Regions from separate parts of the Homo sapiens genome. Here region 2 is linked to region 1. The links are contacts of gene promoters, found by promoter capture Hi-C in blood cells and fetal thymus (Javierre and others, 2016). All regions are on one chromosome and are shown on one strand. Each heading gives the region's core, a stretch centred on a gene start or on the middle of the fragment in contact. The rest is flanking DNA. Distances are from core to core; before and after follow the strand shown. Region 1 holds the start of SLAMF1 (signaling lymphocytic activation molecule family member 1). Region 2 overlaps LOC105371470 (a long non-coding RNA gene).

Region 1 (2,981 bases), core at 147-2,646:
GCTTGGCTTTCCCTGTGACCACTTAAAGTGGCTCGATTTGGTTTTCTGAGCCCCGAGCTCAGTTCTTCCTCCCCTAGACCTTGGGAAGTACGAGCCATGGATCTGCAGATTCCAAAAGAAAGTGGGCTGAGCAAGCCCTGTTCGTCTGGCTGTCTGGTAAAAGACACATCCATTGTGCAGCACCCCCACATCCCTGGCATATCACGGTGCTTTTCCTGGAAAAGTCCATATTGGATTTGCGGTCTTGAAAACCCCAAGCTTAAAACACCCTGGGCCTCAGGATTTCCCCCCGTGTCCGTAATGCCACCTCTTCTACTCCAGGCTACCTCCCACAGTCTAAACAAATAAGCAGAAGGAGATTCTCACCCCACTCACACAGGCAGTCCAAAGTCCACTTCTTGCTTGGCTTTTTCTTTCTCAAATACCTTTTCTCATAGCCCTGATACTTCTAAACAGAAAGCAATAGCCTGCCTTGGGAAGAAGATAGACAGAAAGACAGGAACAGAGTCCAGATCCAAAGGTAGCTCTTGTCTGGCCTTCCTGCTGGAGCTACTCTCTGAGGGTTCCCAATTTGCATTTCCCACATACTGTAACCAGCCCTAGCCTTCAGAAATCCCAACTTCTTCCCTCTTGCTTTCTTGGACCTTCTCTTCCAAGAAAATACACACCAGTATGACCGCACTGTGGCCACTGCTGGTTCTCAGCCAAAAGCCTGGAGTTTTCACTTCTACTCTCTCTTCCCACTCTAGCCAATGCTTTCTGTTGACCCATGCTCCTGGTTTGTCAGCCTGCATGTGCACAGATTCCCTCCCAGGGCAGGGATGTAGGGCAAATCTTCTCCCAGAGCTCAGTCCATCCAGCTCAGTCTCTCTAGGCTGGGTCTTTGCCAGAAGATGCCCATGTAAAACCAACCACTCAAGCAAGACTTCTACCAGGGCCTGTCACCCTAAGACTGGTCAGAAAAGTGACTGGAGCCTTTGGCTTAGAGCCCCTCATTTCCTTGGAAACTGGGGTTGGTGGGGCTGAGTCTTGGAAACCCAAGGGCCCAGGAACTTATAATGTTCCTTCCTCTTTGAAAGAGGCAGTTGAAACTGACAGCCAGTCCCTAAGGAAGAGTGACCAAACACAATACCCAGCCCTGCACCTTCTCTCCATCCACGAAGATACGCTGATTCCTGGCAGCTAACATGGGACTCAAACCATCAGGCAGATGAACACTCACCTGTTCCGTAGCTTGCCCCAAAAGCCAGGGAGAGAAACAGCACGAAGGTCAAGGAGAGGAGCCCCTTGGGATCCATCAGCCAATGAGGAGAAGGAAGGGATCCTGGCCGGAGCCTGGCAGCTGCTCACAGATGCCAGGCAGAAGCAAGCTTCGTGTCATGCAGCAGAGGCTGTCTGATTTATGTATCAGGAACCAGCAGGTTCCTGAACCCGCTTCCTGTATCACTGGGACTTTTTCTGCTTGTGTCTTGAGGATTGCTCATCTCCCATGAGGCTTTAAATCACTTTTTTGTTCTCAAGAAGCAGGCTTCTCAAGAAGCCAGGCACTTAGCCTATGGGAGCCAGGAAAGGGGGTGTGTAGTCACCTCGGCCAAAACCCGGCTTTGGGCAGAAACATGCGCCCCAGCTTCTTTCCTTAGCTGTCTCCAGGAACCGGATGTTGCAGATTCTCTGAGCAGTTCTCTCCGGTAAGTCTTCTTGGATTGCAAAGAAAAGATGTTTCATTGGATCACTCCTCAAATTTGGCAGTTCACAGCTGAACTTAGATAACTGCATTTTGATGAGCTAATAGACCTCTTACTTCTGTTTTATTTCATAATTTCAGATGACACCTCAACATGCAGTCTGGTGCAGGTGCCACTGTCACACAGAGATGGGAAGGGCATGTGCGGGTCACTTGGAAGAAACCCTGTGACCCCGATGAGTGCAATGTGGTATAATTTAGTAGCCCATGCTCCTAGTTTGTCTTCTTGCATGTGTGTGGATTCCCTCCCAGGCAGGGATGTAGGACAAATCTATCCCAGAGCTCCATCCTTCCAGCTCAGTCTCCTTGTTGTGTGTGTGTTTTCTCCTCTAATTTTTAACGTCTGTGGGTACATAGTAGATATACATATATGTGTGTGTGTGTGTGTGTGTGTGTGTGTGTGTGTGTGTGTGTGTATGTATATATATATGTATGGGGTATGCATATATTTGTATGGGGTATATGAGATATGTTGATAGAGGCATGCAATATGTAATAATCACACAGGGTAAATGGGATATCCATCACCTCAAATATTTATCCTTTGTGTTACAAACAGTGCAATTATATTTTTATTTTTAAATGTGCAATTAAATTATTATTGACTATAGTCACACTGTTGTATTATCAAATACTAGTTCTTATTCATTCTTTCTATTTTTTTGTACCCATTAACCATCCCCACTTCTTCCCCAACCCCCACTACCCTTCAGCCTCTGGTAACCATCCTTCTACTCTCTATGCCCACAAGTTCAATTGTTTTAATTTTTACCTCTCACAAGCAAGTGAGAACGTGCAAAGTTTGTCTGTCTGTGCCTGGCTTATTTCACGTAACATAATGATCTTCAATTCCATCCATGTCATTGTGAATGACAGGATCTAATTCTTTTTTAGCTGAATAGTACTTCATTGTGTATATGTACCACATTTTCTTTATCCACTCATCGGTGATAGACGCTTAGGTCGCTTCCAACCTTGGCTATTGTGAATAGTGCTGTAATAAACATGGGAGTACAGATATCTCTTCAATATACTGATTTCTTTTCTTTTAGGTGTATACCTACCAGTGAGATTGTGGATCATATGGTAGCTCTATTTTTAGTTTTTTGAGGAACCTTCAAACCATTCTCCACAGTGGTTGTACTAACTTATATTCCCAACAACAGTGTACAAGGGTACTTTTTCTCCACATCCTTGTCAGCATTTGTTATTACCTGTCTTTTGGATAAAAGCCATT
Region 2 (2,981 bases), core at 235-2,734, 130 kb after region 1:
TCCTCCCACTGCCATGACCACACAGACCAACACCCACCCACCCCAGACTCCCACCCTCCCAATGGTGTTAGCCCCCTTGCCCCAGGGTCTGAAGGGAACCAGGACTTCTTCTTCCACCCTCCCTGTCAACCCCAGAGCTGCTCAGGCCCCTGGGCAGACTGAGGAGCCTGGTACATATGCAGAAGTGAGGCACTGAGATAGGGTGGGAGCTGCTGTTACTGAATGGGTTCTTGACCATGCAGGTAAAAGTTAGAGCACTGTCCCCAAGCCTCAAGGAGACACTGAGGACAGACCCTCCACAGGACACAACAACAGTCTGGGGTCCCAGGGGTGTCCAGCTGTAAGTCACACTGCCTCCTCTGCTCTCTGCCACACATGTCAATGGCATATGAGAGTGACAATGCAGCATCCATCCTCACTAATCCTGGAGCTCAGTGTGACATGAGGCCAGGCCAGCTGCTCTGTGTGTGCGAAAGGGAATAAACTGAGGACTGGGAAACTGCTCTGGGCCTCCACTTCACAGGACAGAAAATGCACGGCATTAGTGCCCAAACCTTGCATCACCTTGAATACACAGAAGGAACAGCAGAGGCAGGATCTGCCCACATCTGTTCCAGAACTTTGTGCTATGTAAGGCCATGTCACTTAACATCTCAGTTGATTTCCAGAACAACTCCATGAACTAAACAGGGAAGATGTTATATCAACTCCATTTCACAGGCTCAGAATGCTTAGATAACCTGCCCAAAGTCTCATCTAGTTAAGTGGTAAAGCCAAAATCCAAATCCAGTGAATTTGAGCCCAAAACTGAGTTTCCCAACCCTGCCCTGAATAGATAAAGGAATGCAAGTACGGAGCTGTGTTGTAATTACATATTTTCCCCGTAGGGGGCTCTGCAGCATACACTGAGCTTCCAGGTGTTGATCAAGAGTCCCAGAGGAGGTGGCTGTGTGCCTTTGAGGTTTCTCCCACTCCCTTGCACTCCCTTGGACCTGCTCCCCGTCTCCTCTTGCCCCAGGGCCATGACCCAGATATTCTTAAGTGCTCGAGGTGTCCACATTGCCATTATTTGTCCACCAGCCTCCCAGGCCAGACCCAGGAGGATTTGGGGGAGGCGAGAAGAGCAGCTGCAGACACCAGGCCTGAAACACTCAACAAAGTCATATTGCATAGAACAAGGCTACTCTGCTACTCAGCCTCAGCCCTGTGGCCCACACGACTGCAGCCCCAGGGGAAACTCAACTGTGCAAAGTAGGACCACACAGGCCCAGCGTGTCCCCCAGGAGAAGGCAGCCTGGACATCCCCACAGGTGGGTACCTTGCTGCTGGCTCTCCCCACTGTGTCTCCTATATATCAGGCCCTGGGATGCAAGCCACTTGACTTCTATTGGCCCTTTTCTCATCCAATAAATATGGCGACATACCAGAAACCCAGAGAATGAAGGCACAGGGTACAGCATCAGAATACCTGAGTTCGATTCCCAAATCTGCCACTTTCTAGCTCCATGTCATAGGTGTCTTATTTTCCCTTTCTAAGATTCCGTTTCCTTCCTAGAAATGAAAACTCCTGACCTGCATACTGGCAGGGCTGTTGTGAGGCTGCAGTGATGGGAAACACCCTGTGAAGGATGGAGCCTGACCATTAGCACTGCCTTGCCATTGGGATGTCAACCCAGAGAGAGAAGGGCTCTCTGGAAGACCCCACCCCTGATGGATTGGCACAACCCTATCCTCTACCCAGACTCCACCTGACACCATACCACACTAAGTAAGTGCTATCAGAATGACTATCAGCGAGGCCAAAGGGCCTCTCCCACCAGTTTTGGGCCCACCCTACCCTAGTGAGCAACCCAACCCCAAGTCCCAGCAACCCACTTCCATTGTGCCCTGGTCCTGTTGTGAGAAGCAGGCCATAGCCAGCCCAGGCCTGATTTATGGCAGACACGCCTTCTCCCCAGCCATGTGGACCTGACCAGAGAGCAGCCCCATCAACTCCACTAAAAGAGTGCCTTCGTCTAATAGGAAGATTTCCTATCACAGAATCCAAGAAAAATGTCTGTGAAGGTTCTCTGCTGGCCTTCCCATGTCCATCCTCACTCACCACCTGTCCCCCTCGCTCATTGCAGGGGAACGGCTCTGCCATAGCACCCTGAGACCTTGCACATCTCTCTCAGGCAAAGGTTTCAACCTCTGCTAAACTGGGTCTTGGCAAAATGCCTTGTGATCCACCCAGAACACGAGAGTTCAGGTGGCCTGTGAGGCACAGCCTTGAAGCCATCTCCCCTGGGAGGCTGTCATGAGACTATTTCCCCTGGCTCCTGGGGTTCTGATGCAGTATGGGACTTCTTGTCCTCAGAACACAGCTGCGGTCTCTAAGTCCTCTTTGCTGAAGGTAGAATTGGCCCCTCGGCATCTGGGTATTCCACAGCTCCCACTGCAGCCATCTGGCCCCTTTTGTTTCAATGTCATCTTTTCTGGTGTGGGACAAGTGCCCAGGGATCTGGAACCCTTGGCTACTCTTCCATTCGTTATATGAATAATCAACTGTCTGAATCTCAAAGTGGCTCAGCGTAGCATCTTTCATAGGCCTTTCTCGGTGCTGTGTGTGCTTGATACCCACCCCATTGCTTCCTTTGTAGTTTCTCCTGCTAAGATTTTTTAAATTTCTTTAAGGAATTTGATAAGAGCATCCCTCTGCATCTGCATAGGCCTTTCCAAAGCACTTTCATATGTTTTCACTCTCACAAAAAGGTATTGTTCCCATTTTAGTAATGAGGAAGCTCCAGGCCACAAGAGGAGGTTGTGGAAAAACTCAGTTCTCAGGGCCTGAAATCCCATTCTCTGACCACTACTGTCCCAAGAACTCTGCTTCAGGTGGTCTAGGGTAGGTCCTGAGGCTTGACATTTTTCAGGAGATTCTCTCTGGCAACTCTAACTTACATATCTTTAAAAACAAAAAACAAAACAGTGCGCATAAATTA

The links. Contacts are between HindIII fragments. The CHiCAGO score rates a contact against its expected background, and 5 or more counts as called.
Region 2: a contact is called between a fragment that was not itself captured here and the fragment with the promoter of SLAMF1 in region 1, in 4 of 17 cell types (non-activated CD4 T cells, activated CD4 T cells, naive CD8 T cells and 1 more). The highest score is 7.9, in non-activated CD4 T cells.

What each region holds. Positions count from the first base shown.
Region 1 is chr1:160,645,648-160,648,628 of GRCh38, forward strand. SLAMF1 (signaling lymphocytic activation molecule family member 1) reads right to left here and starts at 1,397. Exons shown (of 7, transcript NM_003037.5): 1 at 1,223-1,397. The coding sequence starts at 1,298. LOC107985220 (a long non-coding RNA gene) reads left to right here and starts at 1,362. Exons shown (of 2, transcript XR_001738266.2): 1 at 1,362-1,688; 2 at 1,826-2,981. RefSeq lists enhancers at 1,229-1,438, 1,479-1,528. The HindIII fragment of the contact is 11,196 bases long and covers 1,369-2,981 here.
Region 2 is chr1:160,776,779-160,779,759 of GRCh38, forward strand. The region is part of intron 1 of LOC105371470 (a long non-coding RNA gene); the gene reads right to left. Among named protein-coding and RNA genes, the nearest start is that of LY9, 18 kb to the right of the region's middle. RefSeq lists enhancers at 635-684, 1,005-1,074. The HindIII fragment of the contact is 4,063 bases long and covers 1-2,981 here.